Linked DNA regions of Homo sapiens: regions 1, 2, 3, 4, 5 and 6 are each linked to region 7. Evidence: promoter capture Hi-C in 16 types of primary human blood cells and fetal thymus (Javierre and others, 2016). All regions are on one chromosome and are shown on one strand. Each heading gives the region's core, a stretch centred on a gene start or on the middle of the fragment in contact. The rest is flanking DNA. Distances are from core to core; before and after follow the strand shown. Region 1 holds the start of TMEM14B (transmembrane protein 14B). Region 2 overlaps C6orf52 (chromosome 6 open reading frame 52). Region 3 overlaps GCNT2 (glucosaminyl (N-acetyl) transferase 2 (I blood group)). Region 4 overlaps PAK1IP1 (PAK1 interacting protein 1). Region 5 overlaps MAK (male germ cell associated kinase). Region 6 overlaps LYRM4 (LYR motif containing 4). Region 7 holds the start of BLOC1S5 (biogenesis of lysosomal organelles complex 1 subunit 5).

Region 1 (2,700 bases), core at 188-2,687, 2.7 Mb after region 7:
CAACTAGAAATATTCCCAAACACAAATCATTGATTGTTTTACTCTGGTACTAATTGAAATAGAGCAGAAACCAATTTCTTTAATTTATTTTATGACATGTTTTGATGGACTTTACCTACACAGAAGAGCTATGTGTTCTGGTTGAGGAACGACACTGCAAGAAGCAGCATATGGTAGAATTAAGGACGCAGGCTTTGACATTAGACCTTACTTTAAATAATAGCTCTACCAGTGACCAGGACTGTAGGTAATTTAATTCTCTGAGGTTCAGCCTCTTCAAGTATAAGGTGGGGAAGGGCTCGAGGATCATGGTGGATGATCCTAATTAAGGTTTGAGGCTTGCACCTGCATAGGGAAGAATGAGTCCCTAAAGCCATTCCCTGCTGGTTAAGACAAGTCTCATTAATTGTTCAGGAAAGTCTTCAATTAAATTGAAGGTCTGGCATACTGCAATTCCTGCAAGTTCTTAGTTATTATCAGCTCTGGCTGGTTAGAAGCAGCTATGATAAACACGGGCTTCAATTTAGCTATCTGGAAGGTAGGTGCTGCTGCAAGTGGAAAGTTTGTCTTTAAGAATATGCGCTGCAATTTGCTTTATTCACTGATGATTATATTGATCGGAGTTGTCTATGTTGATACTTGTAGGGGATGAAGGAGAGGGAGAAGTCAACGATGACAGCAAATTTTAGTGTAGAGCAACTGAGCGAATGGTGGTGCAGGAAACACAGAAGAGGAGCGGCTCGGAAGTGGGAATGGAGATAACATCATACTGTGGACATTCGGAATCCACAGAGCTGCGTGGAAATCAGATTTAACTTGCTCTCTCTCCCCATTTAAGATGCTTCTCAAGTAGCCTCACTCCCTAAAACAAACGGATATTTGGCATTGCGCCACATTATTCTGCAGCTGCCATATTTTCTTGCAGGTGGAAGGCAGGCCCTTCCTGGTGTAAACAAACAAGATCGGGCCAGAGTGACAATCCTCCCTGATGGCCCGCACCTGGTTTATACCCTCTATTAATGGGGTCCTTCAAAATCATCAGATGCCCTCCTCCCGCAGCGGTGGCCTCCACCTCTGGCCTGGCCCAGCTTACGTGGTCCAGCTTGTGCAAGATCCAATTCCAACTCCGGGTTTCCGGCTTTTGGCCACTCAGGATTGGACCTGGGACTGGAGCTGGTCGGCCCTGCAGGTGCTGGGCCTGGGGACTGAGGAAGCACAGAGATTCCCCGCCCGGTTCCCCGCCAACGGCGCTAGCCGCGATGCCCCGCCTCACTCCCCGCCCCCGGGATGCAGGGCGCGTGCTGGTAATCCGCGGCTCAAGCCCCGCCCCCACTGTCCCCATTCTCCGCTCACCTCTCTCCAAGGACACTGCGCACGCGCCACGACGTCCCGCCTTTCTCCCCGCCCTGCCGCGGCCCCGGGGCGCAGCGCGCACGCAATCGCGTTTCCGGAGAGACCTGGCTGCTGTGTCCCGCGGCTTGCGCTCCGTAGTGGACTCCGCGGGCCTTCGGCAGGTCGGTGCAGGTCTTTGGAGAGTATTGTTTTTATTTTCTGCCACTTTTAACTTTTAGGGATTATTTAGGAGTTTCACGGCCGTCTGCTTTTCGTCCCCCCGATTCAGCGGGCCTTTATGCCGTGTGGTCGGTGCTTTTCTCCTTGGGTATTTTCTGCTTGTCTTAAAAGAGGCTGTGGATGCTCGGAGCACCTGAGCTCCTGAGGCAAAGGCTTACCCTTGTAGCATAGTGTTGCCTCGTTTCCTGGTGGTTTTGTTGCTCCAGCTCTTTAAAAGCCTCCCTTACTCAGTGCCGCCTCGAGTTAAGAACTGTGGGCAAGATCCCAAGCCCGCTGCCCTTCCCCGTTTTATGGGAAATTAATTCTTTCTTTTTTTGGGGGGTGGGGAGGGGTTCTCGCTGTGTCGCCCAGCCTGGAGTGCAGTAGCCTGAATATGTCTTATTGCAGCCTCTGCCTCCTGGGCTCAAGCCATCCTCCCACCTCAGCCTCCCAAGTAGCTGGGATTACAGGTGCATGCCATCATGCCCGATTTGTGTGTGTGTGTGTGTGTTTTAATAGAATATGGGTTTCACCATGTTGACCAAGCTGTTCTCGAACTCCTAACCTCAGGTAATCCGCCTGCCTGGGCCTCCCAAAGTACTGGGATTACAGGCGTGAGCCACTTTGCCTGGCCTAATTCTTTAAACAGAATAAACGGCGTATGCATTGCTTTCCATCTTGTTAGGTTCACTGCATACAGAATACTTTTCTGTAAGAAAATAGGAGCTGTTTTTCCAAGGGTGCAATGTCACATGTGATTCTGACTTGAGTTTCCGTGTATTTTACCCTCCCCTTCTGCCCTCCTAACGAGAACTGTGAGTTGGATGCAGAAGTTTCTAAAAAAAAAAATTGAGTATTGAAATTGGCTGTTGCATCAGTGAAGAAAAGCAACATCCCTACCACCCCTCAAAAGAGACATTAAAGTAGTTGGATTAAGGGCACGGGAGTATTTGCTTTCCGATTTAGTGATAATGTGAGTGCTTAATGAAATGACTAACACATTCCCTGATTATAGAGCTGGTCAGTGGATCTTGCTGAGTTTCCTGTGGACCTATGTGAAATGATCGGCATCTGTTCAGGGTTTACTAGGTGCTAAGCACCTTTACATGTGACATCCATTGAATGCTCACAACACCCCCAGGAAATTGG
Region 2 (2,700 bases), core at 31-2,530, 2.6 Mb after region 7:
GGCTGGGCATGGTGACTCAGGCCTGTAATTCCAGCCCTTGGGGAGGCAGAGCTGGGAGGATCGCTTGAGCCTAAGAGTTTGAGACCAACCTGAGCAACAAAGTGAGACTCCACCTCTACAAAAAATAAAATAAAATGAAAAATAAATGTTTGGTAGAATTAAACAGGCCATCAGGACCTGGGCTTTTCTTTGATGGGAGACTTTTTTTTGAGACAGGGTCTCACTCTGTCACCCAGGCTGACATGCAGTGGCACATTCATAGCTCACTTAAGCCTCAGTCTTTTGGGCACAAGCAATCCTCCTATCTCAGCCTCTCAAATATTTGGGACTATAGGTACATGCTACCATACCCAGTTATTTTTTTAAATTTTTTGTAGAGACAAGGTCTCACTGTATTGCCAAGTCTGGTCTCAAGCCCCTGGGCTCAAATGATCCTCCCCTATTAGCCTCCCGAAGTGCTTGGGATTATAGGCATTATCCACCAGGCCTGGCCTGATGGGAAACTTTTTATTACTGTTTCAATTCCTTATTATTGGTCTGTTCAGGTTTTCTATTTCTTCATAATTTAATCTTGGTAGGTGGTAGATTGTATGTGTCCAGGAATTTACTCATTTCTTCTATGTTATCCAATTTACTGATGTATAATTGTTCATAATTGTCTTTTATGTTCCTTTGTATTTCTGTGATATCAGTTGTAATGTCTCCTTTTTCATCTGATTTTGAGTTTCTTTTGTTCTTAAAGGTTTGTTGACTATCTTTTAAAGAAACCAACCCTTCATTTTGTTGATCTTTTGTATTGTTTTTCTAGTTTCTATCTATTTTTGCTATAGTCTTTATTATTTCTTTTCTTCTACTAATTTTGGGTTTACTTTGTTCTTGTTCTTCTAGCTCCTTGAGGTGCAACTGCATTACATTTCTACTGACCAGTACTGTGCCAGATTGATGACCAGCCAATACTTGAGTGTTTATGATATGGCAGCAGCTGTTTAACCACCTAAAAGTACTGTAGACCTAGCATACCCACACTTCCTATAAGAAAGGTATCAATGTCCCCACTTTACAGAAACTGAAGCAGACACACTAGAGATTAATTTGTCTGGAATTACAGAGCTAGTAGGTAGAATCTGAACCCCGTGGCAATCTGTATCCAAAAAGCAGACTTTTACCTCTATTATTTTGATAGAGGCATGGGACAGCCAAATGCCTAGGCAAATAGGGTAAGGTCCCTGGAGAACCTCCAACCTGCCCAAGTCATTGTGCACAGGGGGCTTGGCTAAACATGCCCACGGTGAAAAATTCCATCTTTTAACACATGTGCAATAAGGGAAATAAATCAATGTGGAGTGGCTCAGACTAAGGGCCCACGTGCACATTGGAAGAATGAGGAGGAGTCACCAGGAATTCACACCTTATGCAGGGGAGGAGCCTGGCCTTTTCAACTCGTATGTGATGGCCTGGTATTCAATTTGTGAGGTGGAAACCTGTGTTTGGGATCCCTCTTTTTGTTAAGAGCTTTCCTTTCACTTAATAAATTCCATCCTCCTCACCCTTCAATGTATCCACATGCCTAATTTTTCCTGGTTGTGAGACAAGGACCCAGATTTAGCTGAACTAAGGAGCAAGAAATCCTGCATCAATTTTAATAAATTGCATAACTGATAAAAGGCAGGAAGAAAGACTCACACTTAATCTGAAAGAAATCCCACAAAGTTGAAATAAGCACCCTTTACTCATGTTTAAATCAAAGTACTAAAAACTACAACTGCTCAACAGCATATAAACATTTCTTTTCAACACCAATTTGATTTAATTTAAACACTGAGCACCTACTGACATGTGAACTCTCTGAATTAGTAACAGGGCCTACAAAGACTGATAACAACATGCTCCCTTCTTTGATAAAGTCATAAAGGCAGTGGGTGGGTTTGTCTGGTAGGGGCAGGGGTTTGGGCAAGAGAGAGATTAGACAAACATGTGATAAGACAGACATGTGATAAGAAAAAGGCAATAGTGTTCTCTGCATTTCTCCTCTATTTTTCTTTCCCATTACTTAAAAGAAGCAAAACATTTTTTCCCCTTCCTCAAATAAGACACATTCAGAGTGTTTGTCTCTAGGCAGGCAAACTTTGTTCTTTCCAAAACAAATTGAGAAGTACAGGAAGCACCACCAGACTGACACTACAGTGCTGCTCTGTCAGGTACCCCAGGATCCAATAACCCTGAGGCCACAGCAATCACCTCATGCTCTTCCCCCTTGAAAAAGAGAATTAAAGCATAATTCTCCTCAAAGTCTAAACTTACAGAGGAAATGGAGCTTAAGAACAATGTATTGTCTTCTTACTGTTTGGGAATGTCCCCCTTTCTCAGTCCTTCAGAAAGGCCCAAAGAGGTGGCTTAGTTAAAGTTGTTCCCATAGAACCAGTTTCTAAAAACAGGAGAAATTACTGAAGCATATGGCTTAGGCAACCTACATTGGAATTTTCCAATAGAACCTTCCAGTTTCTAGCAAGCTGAGTGAATGAGAAACCAGGAAATGGGGTTTTGTTTCCAACCACTTCAGCACAAGGTTTATGTTACCTTCTAGTGGGTCTTCATCTTGGTTTTCAGCTAGAGGTGTGGTTTCCTGCAACAAAATATTATCTCATGAGAAAATAATTTTACTTAAAGGTTTAATATCAATACATACTTTATTGGGAAAAA
Region 3 (2,700 bases), core at 201-2,700, 2.5 Mb after region 7:
AAAGTCTGGTGGGGAAAGCACAGAGCTGTTTAAATAGAATTGTAGTGTCCAGAGTAAGGGAAGTGAAAGCCTCACTTCTCTCCCATGTGCTTGGAGTAGGATGTAGACTCTTCAGGTCTGGCCACCCTACTATACGGGGAGACATTGACACAGCAGTTCCAAAGAGAGCAGCCAGGGAGGTAAAAAGGCCAATCCCCACTTTTTTTTTTTTTTTTTTTTAGAGAAGACCAAGACAAAGAAAAAGGATAATTGATTTGGAAAAGACTTGAAGAGGGATCGGTGTCTTTACCTAATTAAAAGATTTGCTCAGGAAAGAGAAATTAGACCAACTCTGTCGTTTTGGAAGTAGAATCTAGGGCCAGCGGGTGGGAGATGAGAACACATGGAGCTGGGAATAAAACGGGCAGCTTCCTCAATGGTGAGCAAAGCCAAGGGAAGCAGGGCTGGGGAAGTGCTGCTGAGGAAACCTCAAGGATTGGACCGGATGGCCTCCGAGTCCCTTCCCACTCTCAGAGTCTGTGATCCTAATCAGGGGACTCAACAGAAACTTAAGGGAAACCCCCTGACTTCTCGACTCGATGTATCTATTGGAGCTGGATTTTTACACCCCGTGTTAGCAGTAACAGATTGGCAAAGCAATAGAAAACAAATGCACCAATTCATGTTTTTCAGAAACTTAACAAAAGTTAGCCCCTGAAGTCATTTCTGTGTTATGTGTGTGGAGGAACACTGCCGGAGGACCCTGACCAGCTCTGCCAACTCTTTTTTTTCTTTTTTTGGATCTCACTCTGTCATCCAGGCTGGAGTGCAGTGGCACAATCACGGCTCACGGCCTCAACCTCCCAAAGTGCTGGGATTACAGGTGTGAGCCACACAGCACCCAGCCCGTGCTGGTCTTGACCTCCCAGGCTCAAGCCTTCCAAGAGGCTGGGACTACAGGCATGTGCCCCCATGCCTGGCTAACTTTAACTTTTGTAGAGACGAGGTCCTGCTGTGTTGCCAGTGCTGGTCTTGAACTCCTGGGCCCAAGCGATCCTCCTGCCTCAGCCTCGTGAGCCACCACATCGGGCAAGCCCTGCCAACTCTTTCCTGACCTGAGGCAGGGCTGAATGTAGGAGGTTAGGGAATTAGAAACCTAAGGGTTGTCTTGTTTAATTATTATTCCGGCTATGTGGAGATCTGAGCCATTTTCCGTTGTAAGGGTCCTTCTGGTTGATGTGTATATGTTGTGGTTTTTGCTTTTTTTTTTTTTTTTTTTTGGCAGGTGTGCGAGGGACATTTTGAGATTGTTCCAATTCATTGTCATGATTGAGGGATTATGATTAGGATTCTGTAAAGTAACTAGTCCAGGCCAGGTGTGGTGGCTCACGCCTGTAATCCCAGCACTTTGGGAGGCTGAGCTGGGTGGATCGCCTGAAGTCAGGAGTTCAAGACCAGCCTGGCCAACATGGTGAAACCTATCTCTACTAAAAATACAAAAATTAGCCGGGTGTGGTGGCACGTGCCTGTAATCCCAGCTACTCGGGAGGCTGAAGCAGGAGAATCACTTCAGCCTGGGAGGCGGAGGTTGCAGTGAGCCAAGATCCTGCCACTGCACTCGCGTCTGGGCGACAGAGTGAGACTCCATCTCAGAAATAAAAATTTAAAAAAAAATTAGTCCAGAAAAACATCTCACAGCTGAAGTGGTCTCATGGGAAGGGAGAACAGCACTGCCCAATAGGAATGCTATAATGGGAGCCATAGATCTAAAATCAAATTTTAGATTTTCCAGGAGCCACATTAAAAGAAGTAAAAAGAAGCAGATAATATGAATTTAAAGAATGTATTTTATGCCAGGTGTGGTGGCTCTCGCCTGTAATCCCAGCACTTTGGGGAGCCGAGGTGGGCGGATCACTTGAGGTCAGGAGTTTGAGACCAGCCTGGCCAACATGGTGAAACCCCAACTCTACTAAAAATACAAAAAACTAGCCAGGCGTGGTAGCTTGTGCCTGTAACCCCAGCTACTCGGGAGACTGAAGCAGGAGAATCGCTTCAGCGATTTAGGAGAACCAGGAGGCAGAGGTTGTGGTGAGTTGAGATCATGCCACTGTACTCCAGCCTGGGTGACAGAGCAAGACTCTGTCTCAAAAAAAAAAAAAAAAAAAAAAAAAAGAATGTATTTTATTTAACTCAGTTTGAAACATCACTTTTACTTGTGGCCTGTGGCTGCGACCACAGGCAGGGGAGGTGGACCACGCATCCTCATTGCTGGTGCAGTGGTCAGGCTCTGCCGCCCTAGCAGCACCGAGACGTTGGCCGTCCTCATGTCGCAGAGTCTCCACCTCTGCTGGTTTTGCTTTGCCTGCTTCTACTTTATTTGAAATTCTTGCCTGTGCTTCAGCACTTCCCCTGGTTTATGGGCTCCTCCACCCTGTGGGTTCTACTTCCTATGTCTTCCCCTGGTATCTGCCAGATTCCATGCTGCTCTTTTTTTTTTTTTTTTTTAAGATGGAGTCTCGCTCTGTCACCCAGGCTGGAGTGCAGTGATGTCATCTTGGCTCACTGCAACCTCCTCCTCCTGGGTTCAAGCAATTCTCCTGTCTCAGCCTCCGCAGCACCAGGGATTACAGGTGCATGACACCACGCTTGGCTAATTTTTGCATTTTTAGTAGAGACGGGGTTTCACCATGTTGGCCAGGCTAGTCTTCTGACCTCAGGTGA
Region 4 (2,700 bases), core at 65-2,564, 2.6 Mb after region 7:
ACAATGGATACGAGATGTTAAAGGGATATGGGAATGAAGCAAGTCTTAATCCTGCCTCATAATATTTCAAAATATTGCTGTAAGGAAGATAGCAGGTCTTCTAAATAGCCAATATTTAGTAAAATGTCACTTAAGTCTTCATTATGCTTGTTCTTTTACGCTTAGTAAAAGTTAGTTGGTGATCACACCGTAAGTGAGCTTCCTGTTTTGCAGAACGTGGAATCTTGTAGAAGGAAGATCAGCATTCATAAAAAATATAAAACAAAGTGAGTATTTTTGTTTGAAATGCAGGTTGAGCATTCCTAATCTGGAAATCTGAAATGCTCCAAAATCTGAAACTTTTTGAGCACTGATGTGGTGCCTCAAGTAGAAAATTCAACACCTTACCTCATGATGGGTCACAGTCAGAACCTTGTTTCATACACAAAATTATTTAAAATATTGTGTAAAATTACCTTCCGGCTAGGTGTATATGAAGCATAGATGAATTTCATGTTTAGACTTGAAACATGAGTTGCATGGGTTTTATCCTCGAGATATTTCATTGTATATATGCAGATATTCCAAAATCCAAAATCGTTCTGGTCCCAAGCATTTTGGATAAGGGATACTCAACCTGTATATTTTACAGTGACTTAATGGAATATGAATATAGATATACATTTTTACATGTGTGTATGTTACACATTTATTTCCCTGCATGGTGGTGGTTACCTCTGAGCAAATGCCTTGGGTTACTTTCTTTTCCCATTTTAGACTAGATTCTTTTTGTGGCTCTGCCACCTGCCTTTGATTTTTATTTTGTTTCATTTTATTTTATTTTATATTTTTTATTTTATTTTATTTTTTGAGATGGAGTCTCGCTCTATCACCCAGGCTGGAGTGCAGTGGCGCTATCTCAGCTCCCTACAACCTCTGCCTTCTGAGTTCGTTATTCTCCTGCCTCACCCTCCCAAGCAGCTGGGATTACAGGCGCGTGCCACCATGCTTGGCTAATTTTTTGTATTTTTTGGTAGAGAGATGGGGTTTCACCATGTTTGCCAGGCTGGTCTCAAACTCCTGGCCTTAAGTGATCCACCCACCTTGGCCTCCCAAAGTGCTGGCATTACAGGTGTGAGCCACTGCACCTGGCCCACCTTTGACTTTTTGAACCTAGATTATTTTCTAAAAAACTTGACTTGTAAAATGTGTTACGAAGATGAAATAGGATAATGAATTTGAAAATGCACAGTATAAATATTTGCTATTTTTATTACTATGATCATTTTATGTTTTATTTACAAAATAAATAAACTTCGTTTTTTTCCACTTACAGATGCTCACATAGTAGAATGGTCCCCAAGAGGAGAGCAGTATGTAGTTATCATACAGAATAAAATAGACATCTATCAGCTTGACACTGCATCCATTAGTGGCACCATCACAAATGAAAAGAGAATTTCCTCTGTTAAATTTCTTTCAGTAAGTAATCAGAAATCATTGACCAAAGTTTGTGGTGATGGTTGGAACTGTTGATGACATTCTGGATGTTATTACTCTTTTTCCTCTCTCCTAGGAGTCTGTCCTTGCAGTGGCTGGAGATGAAGAAGTTATAAGGTTTTTTGACTGTGATTCACTAGTGTGCCTCTGCGAATTTAAAGCTCATGAAAACAGGTATTTTTACCAATCTTTGGTGTATATGTCTAGTCTTAATAAAAGGTATATATGCAGTAGTTTCATAAGCCAGGTTATATGTTTTTATTAACAACTGCAGAAATAATCAGACATATCTACATGTACAGTATATGGTATCTGTAGTCTAATAAGGTGGTGGAAGATGTTATCTTCCTGGCATTTAATAATGCAAAAGTGGGCCGGGAGCAGTAGCTCACGCCTGTAATCCCAACACTTTGGGAGGCTGAGGCGGGCGGATCAGGAGGTCAAGAGATCAAGACCATCCTGGCCAACATGGTGAAACCCCGTCTCTACTAAAAATAAAAAAATTGGTGTGGTGGTGCACGCTGGTAGTCCCAGTTACTCGAGAGGGTGAGGCAGGAGAATCACTTGAACCCTGGAGGCGGAGGTTGCAGTGAGCCAAGATCGCACCACTGCACTCCAACCTGGTGACAGAGTGAGACTCTGTCTCAAAAAAAATAATAATAATAATGCAAAAGTGGTGAAATTGTTTTCTGGACTGTCATTTACACAAGGTATTTTTTAAATGTCTGTTAGACTTGGAGCCTGAAATCAAGCATATTTGAACAAACAAAAGACTAAACAATCTTGAGCTTTGTTCCCATCTACTTTTGTCCTTTTACATAAGTCCCCTTGCCTACTTCTTCCCCCTTTCCATGTGATTTTTTTTCCTGCAGGAGAAGTGAATTGACGTTATTGAGTTCCTGTTTTGTGCCAGCTTTTATTACCTTTTAATGCTTTCTCTATTTCTAGGGGGTAGATAGTCTCAAAGTAAGTAGTTAAGTGGTTGGCCAATATTACCCCAATAGTGGAGCTGAGAGCTGAACCCGGTTTTATCTGACTCTTATATCCCTGCTTTCTCCAGTAATTTTGAAAAAGGTGATCTAATATACAGAGTTAGATTTTGATGTGATCCATTTGCATGTTCTATGTCTCAAATGAGTCTTAATTCTTATTTCTTAAACAGTGGTTAAGTTTTAAGAAATCCATACTTAGAGTACTGCAGTCAGTAGTATAAAGGCCTTA
Region 5 (2,700 bases), core at 159-2,658, 2.8 Mb after region 7:
CAACTTCTAAACAAGCCATTCTTATGAACTGGTGCCAGCTCTTACTATCCCTAATGAGGCTAAAGAAATCATCCTCTTTGCTCCAAAACCACACAGACTAAGCTCCACAACTCAAGCCACCTACCCCAACCTCCACCTTAAGATTCCTAATGCAGCTCTTCACTCAAACACTAAGATATTGCTGACTACCTGGAAAGTGAAGTGGGACTACTCCATATCCTGACTAAACCCTAATGCTACATCTGGGTCATTCAGACCAGTGAAAAATAACAGAAACAGTGAAGGGAAAGAGTGAGACCTTAGAACTTGAATGGTTAAGGGAGAAAGAATCTAGGTGGTGCTCCTCTCATGAAAATTATTATTATTATTATTATTATTGTTTGAGACAGAGTCTCACTCTGTGCCAGGTCCGACCCGCAGACCCTGGCTGAATGACAGATCAAAGAATGCACTCAGACACAGGTATCCAGTGAAAGAGCGGGCTAGGGGACCGGGCAGCACACAGACCCCAGGAGGGTGCTGTAAACCGTGGCCCTGCTCAGCTGGCGCTGTGGGCATTTATTCAGCACAGATTTAATGACAAAGGCTTTGAGTTAACACACTTGTGGGTAATTAACATGGTCGCACCGCTCCCCCGCCCCACGCAGTCCTGCGTCTGGATGATTAAAGGCCAGGTTCTGAGGCCTAAGTAAACTAACTTATCTAGATTAGTTTCTTTACATCCCCTTGTTATCTAACCTAAGCTCTTAAGAGAATTCAGCTGCCTTCAGCCAAATTTTCTTTTGAAGCTTTGCAAACCCCTGGCCTTCCAAGAAGGTTTGCATCTTTCTACGATTTTTCCCACCACCCTGACCAATCTCCTACAGCTCGGATGCCCAGGCTGGAGTGTGGTGGCGTTATCTCTGCTCACTGCAACCTCCGCCTCCCAGGTTCAAGGGACTCTCCTGCCTCAGCCTCCTGAGTAGCTGGGATTACAGGCGCGTGCCACCATGCCCGGCTAATTTCTGTATTTTTAGTAGAGACAGGGTTTTACCACGTTGGCCAGGCTGGTCTTGAACTCCTGACCTCATGTGATCCACCTGCCTCGGCCTCCCAAAGTGCTGGGGTTTATAGGCGTGAGCCACTGCGCCCAGCCATGAAAATTATTTAATTCAGAAACATAATGGTATGATAGCATCATCTTTTCTTTTAACCAAATTATTTTCATGTTAACACCTAACCAAGGACAAGCATTTGAGGGTCTAAAAGGTAGAAAAGTAATGCAGACAATTCTGAAAAAGGACATATGACTTGAGAAGGGAATGGAAGAGGGAGCTGCCTCTGGTTGCATGGTAATGATGGTAGCGAGTGTTATTCAGGAAGTGGAAACACAAAGAGTGACAAAAAAATCACCTTCATTGGCCCAACAATCTAAAAATTAAGAATTAATTACACCTCTCTCTTCCACTATTAAGGCCATCAGCCACCCCCATCACCACCGCCCTGGGGTGGGAGGGTGACCTGAAGCTGCACCAGCACTATCAGCACAATAGAGCATTCAGTCACTGATGACTTTCGACCCAAGCCTGCGTGCACAGTCTCTTTGCGAGTGGCTATTTTGGCAACTTCATTCCAAGCCTAACCAATCAACTTCTGAATAAACACCGGCAACACCAATTGTCTTTCAACGGATGATGGCTATAGGATAGGGTGTACTTATATTGAGGGAAGAATAAGCAAGGAACACGACCATTTCCCAGCTCCTTTCTGTTTGAGGGGTGGAGTGTTGAGGATTACGGACGTGACATAGATTTTTAAAAGGTCAGATTAGTGGTTCTGTGAGGATCTGTCCCATTTAAGCCCTACCTAACCTTTAAGTAAAACAACTTTACATACTGCGCTCCCTAAGAAAAAACTTTGGAAAGGCTTCTTTTGAACTACATTAATTACAAAATCAACAGCTGCCCAGGGTGAGACGCTGATCATTGCAACTGTTCCTTCTATCCCCTGAACATACAATTGTCTAATGTAGAGACATAGACATCAAGGTAAAGCTTTTAAAAAATCATTATTCCATGTCCCTGCTCCCTGATAGCACATAAGCAACTACTTTTATCAATGTGGCATAGCAACTACTGATTACTAATCAAAAAGCAGTCTATGTTCCTTAAACACAGGCTTCCCATGGTTCTCCAGTTCACGCACAATAATATTTCTCTACAAGTTACATATATTCTTCTCTGTTGACCTATGGAAAACTAATCTACAAAATAGGAATATATTAACACAGTTTCTTATGTACATGAATATATATAGATATGATACATATGCAACAAAAAACCCAAGTAAATATAACTATCATCCTCAATTTAACAGAATTGTTAAAAACTTGGAATTTTCTACAATCAAGCTATAACATTTATTGACCTTCCTATGGGTTAAAGAAAAAGATGCTTATTTAGAGGCTTAATTATAGACCTACACAAAAATAAATACCCTTATAATTTATCTCTCATTCTAGTTTTCAACTTTTTAATCTAAGTTCATAATTACCGTTTCTCTAAGTGCACAATTGTTGTAAATATAGCCTTTACTCTCAACAGCTTTTGCCAGCTAATAAGAGATTCAGATAGGATTAAAGAAGATTAGCAAAGAGGGCAAATGAAGGGTAAAACAAGCGTCTGCCAAAAACTGAAGAGATAAGGCTTGGATGTCTTCAAC
Region 6 (2,700 bases), core at 151-2,650, 2.8 Mb before region 7:
CTGCACCAGGGACTATCCTAAGTACTTGATGTGTATTAACTCACCACAGTGGTGCCGACTACAGCCCCCATTAACAAAGAATTAGCTGGCCCAAAAGGTTGGTCATGCCAAGATTGAGAAATCCTAGTTTAAGGTGAGAAAATTAGTGGCTACGGATGCTATTCTAGGGAACATCAGAATTGAAGGAGTTGGCTGAAGAAGAGCCAAGAAGACAAAATTTAAGAATGTGGTTCTTGGCCAGGCGCGGTGGCTCATGCCTGTAATCCCAGCACTTTGGGAGGCCGAGGTGGGCGGATCACCTTAGGTCAGGAGTTCAAGATCAGCCTGGCCAATATGGTGAAACCCCGCCTCTACTAAAAATACAGAAATTAGCCAGGCGTAGTGGCAGGCACCTGTAATCCCAGCTACTCGGGAGGCTGAGGCAGAAGAATTGCTTGAACCTGGGAGGTGGAGGTTGCAGTGAGCCAAGATCGCACCATTGCCCTCCAGCCTGGGCAACAAGGGCAAGATTTCAACTGGAAAAAAAAAAAAAAAAAAAAAAAAAAAAAAAAAAAAAAAGAATGTGGTTCTTAAACTTATTGGTCTCAGGACCCTTTTACACTGTGTGAGATGGATCAATTATGACTCTCATTTTATAAAGAAACTGCAGAACAGAGAGTGATGTGACTTGCGTGGGGTCACACAGAGTTGGTGGTGCTGACTACTGCAGTGCTCATCACTCCTCTGAGCTTCAGAGCCCTGTGATTAACTACCTCTGCTGGGCATCCCAGGGGAAATTTACACCCAAGATACCCTAAATATGAACTAAAAAACCCTCTCTCCACAAGACCAGCTAGTTCTGTATTACCTGAGTCAGTTAATGGTGCAAGTTTAAATTCACCCTCTCTGTGCTTTAGCTTAACCAGAAACCTGGATGCCATTCTAGACTCTGCTTGGATTCTCTTCTTCCTTAGTCCTCAATCCAATCATTCCAGTTCCAACAATTTTCCCTTCTAATGATTTATCAAATACAACATTCTTCTCTATCTTCCACTATTCCTGTCCTTACTAGCGTCCTAATCTCTACTCTGCACTGTTGTAATCAACTCCCATTTGATGTCCTTGGCCCCTCAAAATCATCTTCTACACTGCTGCCAGAGTGATCTATCAGAAAATGCAAATCTGGTCATGTCAGGTTAGTGGCTGCCTGTGAGCTAAGGGTAAAGTCCAGGGTCCTCAGCACGGCCCCCAGGCCCTCAAATCAGTGGCCCTCTCCAACCTCAGTGCCTTCCTGTCACCGCCCCCCCAACCCCATCATACTTACCTCCCTGGCAGTGCTGTGCTGTTTGCCTGCCTGACCACACCAAGCTGCTTCATGCCTTTGATCCAACATCACCCCTTGGGAGGCCTTCTAGATTCCACACCTTGTACATCCTTCTGTCACAGCACTTAACCCAGTCTGTGACAACTATCTCTGTACCTGTGTCCCACATAGGCCTGTAAAGCCATTGATAACAGGTGCCTAGCTTAGTTCAAAAATCTCATCTTTCTCTCTCCAGGGCTTGGTATAGCAGGGGTCCCCAACCCATCAGTACTGGTCCGTGGCCTGTTAGGAACCGGGCCACACAGCAGTTGAGCGGTGGGTGAGTGCGCATTATGGCCTGAGCTCCATCTCCTGTCAGATCAGCGGCGGCATTAGATTCTCATAGGTGCACCTATTGTGAACTGTGCATGTGAGTGATCTAGGTTGCATGCTCCTTATGAGAATCTAATGCCTGATGATCTGAGGTGGAAGAGTTTCATCCCGAAACCATCCCCTCCCTTGACCCGGTCCATGGAAAAACTGTCTTCCATGAAATTGGTTCCTGGTGCCAAGAAGGTTGGGGATAGCTGTGATATAGCACTGGGCAAAGCATGCTTCAGAGATGTTTTGTAGAAGCACTGAGGTAAAAGAATGACACACAGCAATGAGACCTGTTTGGCTGGTGGGAGGGATGGGAGTGGAAGCTGTGGGATGAAGAGAGTTGGGAAAACTTTTGTTCAGAGAAGGTGACAATTGAGCTCAATCTTGAAGGAAGAGGGGGCACTCTAGACAGGAGTGATAAAGGGCCTGCTGGATAGAACAGTACTTGTAAAGGCCTGGAGGCCCAACAGGACGTGGCACATTTAGGAAACTGCAACTGATGATGACAGAGGACAGGATGCACATGTGGGACTTAGGCTGAGACTGGAGGAGCAGACAGGGCTCCTGCTATCAAAACGTGGCCTATATTATAGGTCTTGCAAGAGAGTTCCAAAGTATTTATTTCACTACTCTAATTACTTAAGGCACAATTCGCAGGTCATTAAAAAACGTTTACTAGTCTGCTTTTGATTGCTTATTCAGCACTACCTGTGTTAGTTTTGATAGGTAACTTAAGCTCCCTGTGCCTCAGTTGCCTTACAGGGTAATACAAATAGTACCTACCTCACAAGATTATTGTCAAAACAAATGTGTTAATAGACATGAAGAACATAAGATAGCAGTGGCACACAGAATTGATAGTGGATGTTGTGTTGCTATTGATTTGCCATCAGTGACAAACAGCTGCAGAGATTAGAGAGGAGGGAAGGGACTTTTCCTGAAATTCACAAGACACAGCCTTAATGTAAAAGGACGTATTTTTATAACAAGTAAGTTTATCTAGGGAGGTAATAGCAGGAATGTCGGTTTTTAGGTCT
Region 7 (2,700 bases), core at 147-2,646:
TAAAAATAAATACATCAGAGTTACACTTATCAACATAAATATAAAAAATAATACGTATTTTATAATAAATATAATAAAAAAGCAAGTTTCAGAAGGATTAAAGCAATTTACATAAAACTTTAAAATATTCAAAATATTTCCTTTTGGGATATAGACAGAAGCAACAAAACTATAAAGAAATGCACAAGAATAATAAACACCAAATTCTGGATAGTGGCTACCTTGAGACGAGGGAGGGGAACTAGTGCAATTAGAGCAAGACACAGTGGGGCTTTTAGTAATTTATTTATTAAGGTGGGTGGTGAATGTTCATTGTAAGTCTCTTTTTCATAAGTCTGAAAAAGTCATTAAGAAAAGGTCTGAATTTAAGTCTTTTGGTGAGTCAGTTTATTATTCTTCTTAGTTACAACTATGTAGTTTAAAATGTAAGTCTCAAAATTCCTTGAGAAATTAAATCTAAGACAATGTATTATTCATATTCATTCACTGGCAATGTTCCCCAAATTTTTCATTTTTGCAGACATACGATGGGCAGGTTTCAATTCTCTATTTTAATGAATTTTATTAGTACATATCTTCTTAAGCATGTCAAGTAGAAAAAATAATACAAGCACTGTATATAAGCACTTTATATCTGGTATATATAAAGCACTACAACTCAACTGTCAAAGACTTTCACGCAGCAAACAGCGTTGTGAGCTTTAGGAGTCAAACCTAAAGCAGATTCTGTGAGAATCTAGGTTGTAACCTTCTCCCAGCTCAAAGCACACAGAACACATGGACATTTCTGAACGTGAATGGTTCTTTACAGTGCTATAGAGCGCCTTCGTAAGTGTATCTCACTTACTCCTCGCACGACCAGGAACAGATCGGGTAGGAGAGTGAGTAAAGCCAGTGACCCGAAGTCACTCAACTCCTAAGCGACTGCCTCCCGCCTCCCAGGTCCAATGCCCTTTCCACTACACGTCGGTGGCGAGGCTGCCCAAAGGCTCTGCGCCCAGGGGTCCTGAGCTTGCGGAATGGACGGGGGCGGGCCTGATGGCTCAGGCTGCGACAGAGGAAAGCGGGGAAACACGAAGAGTTGGGCTGGTTGGTTGTGGTGGGACGCATTTGGCGCGGGGAAAAAGGCGGGGACCGACCACGACTCCCCCACCCGCACAAACGCACGCGCGCCAGCCCGGGACCCGGGGGTCGGCCCGGGTCAGAGGGCGCCGCCTGGGAGATGAGGCTGTGCTGGGATCCACCAGGAACTATAGCCCTGACACTCCGTACCCTTGATAATGAGGTGCGCTGAGCCCGCAGTCCCCAGGGAGTCCCTCTTCTTGCTGCCACCGCCCGGGGCGGCCTCACAACCCACAGGGGTCTCTGTCCCTCCGCCACTCATCCCGACCAGTTCCGCCCACCCGCGGCCACGCTGCGCCTGCGCAAACCCGGCCGCCCTCTTACAAGGCGCGCCCGGGTTTTTTTTGTGTGTGTGTCATTACAGGGCGCCGGAGAAATTTAATCTACCCAGCGGGCGGTTCCGGAAAGGCGCCTGCCGTGTAGTCAGGCTGTGAACTGGCAGAAGCTCTTGCCGCCATGCTGGATCAGGGCGGATGCTGCTAGAATAGGAAGGTGCTTGAACTTTGGAGCTAAACTCAGAGCCCTGGTTATTTGGCTCAAAGCTGGTGCATTCCAGTACAGTTGTCCTCCCATATCTGCTGAGAATACATTCCAAGACCCCCAGTAGATTCCTGAAACTGCATATAGTACTGAACCATGTATATACTATGTTTTTTCCTGTATATACATATGATAAAGTTTATAAATTAGGCACAGTAAGAGATGAACAATTAGAACAATTTAATAAAAGTTATGTGAATGTAGTCTCTCTCCCAAAATATCTTATTGTACCGTCCTGCGGGTAATGAAACCACAGAAAGTGAAACCTCAGATAAGGGGGGACTACTGTATAGCAAAGCCAATTAGCTGGGGGCTGTTTCCCTACTATGCCATGAGTGTGGCTGACTATTCCTGCCTTTCTTTTTAGACACCTGTTTCCTAGAATGCTTCTCTTGCTCCCTCTTTCTGTTCAAGTCAGTAAACTCACGTTGTATAATAAAGAATTTGACTGGACTTTGACTCTGGTTCCTGGGAGGTACCCTCAATCCTTAGAATTTCCCAAGTGATAGAAGTGTCTTTGTTATTCATGGTGGGCCTCTGGAAATACACCTGAGTTTATGCTAATGAGATGGCTCATGGAGGGCCCAAGATGATTTCAGAATGGAGGCTGGCCACACCAGAAGGGCCGGCCAACCATGAGGGCTTAGGCTTTGAGTCACATAAGCAGGCCCACCTCTGGGGAGCAGATTGGGGCTGGAGACTGAGTTCAGCCATGTGGCCAGTGATTTAACCAACTATGCCTACATAATGGAACCCCAGTGAGTACTCTGGATGTGGAAGCTCAGGTGAGCTTACTGGTCGATAATCATTCATCAAAGTGTCAGGAGGGGGAAGCGTTCCTGAGGACACGTAAGCTTCTATTTGGGAAATCTCCCACATCTCGCCCTATACATCTCTTCATTTGGCTGGTCCTGATATGTGTCCTTTATAATAAAACTGTAATAGCAAGGAAAGCACTTTCTTGAGTTCTATGAGTCATTCTGTGAAACCTGAGGGAGTAAAGCGAATAGCAATGAAACATCATGTGTAGAGAGAAGC

What was found. Contacts are between HindIII fragments. The CHiCAGO score rates a contact against its expected background, and 5 or more counts as called.
Region 1: the fragment with the promoter of TMEM14B here is called in contact with the fragment with the promoter of BLOC1S5 in region 7 in 8 of 17 cell types (non-activated CD4 T cells, naive CD8 T cells, activated CD4 T cells and 5 more); the score reaches 22.9 in non-activated CD4 T cells.
Region 2: a contact is called between a fragment that was not itself captured here and the fragment with the promoter of BLOC1S5 in region 7, in 6 of 17 cell types (total CD4 T cells, activated CD4 T cells, naive CD8 T cells and 3 more). The highest score is 16.8, in total CD4 T cells.
Region 3: a contact is called between a fragment that was not itself captured here and the fragment with the promoter of BLOC1S5 in region 7, in 5 of 17 cell types (M0 macrophages, non-activated CD4 T cells, total B cells and 2 more). The highest score is 8.2, in M0 macrophages.
Region 4: a contact is called between a fragment that was not itself captured here and the fragment with the promoter of BLOC1S5 in region 7, in 8 of 17 cell types (non-activated CD4 T cells, naive CD4 T cells, naive CD8 T cells and 5 more). The highest score is 32.6, in non-activated CD4 T cells.
Region 5: a fragment that was not itself captured here is called in contact with the fragment with the promoter of BLOC1S5 in region 7 in 4 of 17 cell types (total CD8 T cells, naive CD8 T cells, total CD4 T cells and 1 more); the score reaches 7.4 in total CD8 T cells.
Region 6: a fragment that was not itself captured here is called in contact with the fragment with the promoter of BLOC1S5 in region 7 in 2 of 17 cell types (total CD4 T cells and naive CD8 T cells); the score reaches 6.7 in total CD4 T cells.

The regions. Positions count from the first base shown.
Region 1 is chr6:10,746,368-10,749,067 of GRCh38, forward strand. It overlaps TMEM14B (transmembrane protein 14B), which reads left to right and starts at 1,438. Exons shown (of 6, transcript NM_030969.5): 1 at 1,438-1,514. TMEM14B-DT (TMEM14B divergent transcript) reads right to left here and starts at 1,217. Exons shown (of 2, transcript NR_187231.1): 1 at 1,094-1,217. RefSeq lists an enhancer at 998-1,047 and silencers at 1,168-1,397, 1,232-1,452, 1,408-1,467. The HindIII fragment of the contact is 12,296 bases long and covers 1-2,700 here.
Region 2 is chr6:10,680,610-10,683,309 of GRCh38, forward strand. C6orf52 (chromosome 6 open reading frame 52) reads right to left here. Exons shown (of 5, transcript NM_001145020.3): 4 at 2,578-2,623. Among named protein-coding and RNA genes, the nearest start is that of C6orf52, 13 kb to the right of the region's middle. The HindIII fragment of the contact is 4,166 bases long and covers 1-2,700 here.
Region 3 is chr6:10,531,676-10,534,375 of GRCh38, forward strand. All of the region lies in intron 3 of GCNT2 (glucosaminyl (N-acetyl) transferase 2 (I blood group)), which reads left to right. Among named protein-coding and RNA genes, the nearest start is that of GCNT2, 12 kb to the left of the region's middle. RefSeq lists enhancers at 2,327-2,576, 2,697-2,700. The HindIII fragment of the contact is 3,081 bases long and covers 1-2,700 here.
Region 4 is chr6:10,703,192-10,705,891 of GRCh38, forward strand. It overlaps PAK1IP1 (PAK1 interacting protein 1), which reads left to right. Exons shown (of 10, transcript NM_017906.3): 5 at 214-266; 6 at 1,316-1,461; 7 at 1,556-1,653. Among named protein-coding and RNA genes, the nearest start is that of PAK1IP1, 9.6 kb to the left of the region's middle. The HindIII fragment of the contact is 5,983 bases long and covers 1-2,700 here.
Region 5 is chr6:10,834,426-10,837,125 of GRCh38, forward strand. The region is part of intron 1 of MAK (male germ cell associated kinase); the gene reads right to left. Among named protein-coding and RNA genes, the nearest start is that of MAK, 2.8 kb to the right of the region's middle. The HindIII fragment of the contact is 1,245 bases long and covers 787-2,031 here.
Region 6 is chr6:5,255,973-5,258,672 of GRCh38, forward strand. The region is part of intron 1 of LYRM4 (LYR motif containing 4); the gene reads right to left. It also overlaps a transcript of FARS2 not described here. Among named protein-coding and RNA genes, the nearest start is that of LYRM4, 3.6 kb to the right of the region's middle. The HindIII fragment of the contact is 3,663 bases long and covers 1-2,700 here.
Region 7 is chr6:8,062,993-8,065,692 of GRCh38, forward strand. BLOC1S5 (biogenesis of lysosomal organelles complex 1 subunit 5) reads right to left here and starts at 1,397. Exons shown (of 5, transcript NM_201280.3): 1 at 1,273-1,397. The coding sequence starts at 1,384. It overlaps BLOC1S5-TXNDC5 (BLOC1S5-TXNDC5 readthrough (NMD candidate)), which reads right to left and starts at 1,422. Exons shown (of 13, transcript NR_037616.1): 1 at 1,273-1,422. The region is part of intron 3 of EEF1E1-BLOC1S5 (EEF1E1-BLOC1S5 readthrough (NMD candidate)); the gene reads right to left. RefSeq lists enhancers at 605-1,231, 841-1,030. The HindIII fragment of the contact is 8,031 bases long and covers 1-2,514 here.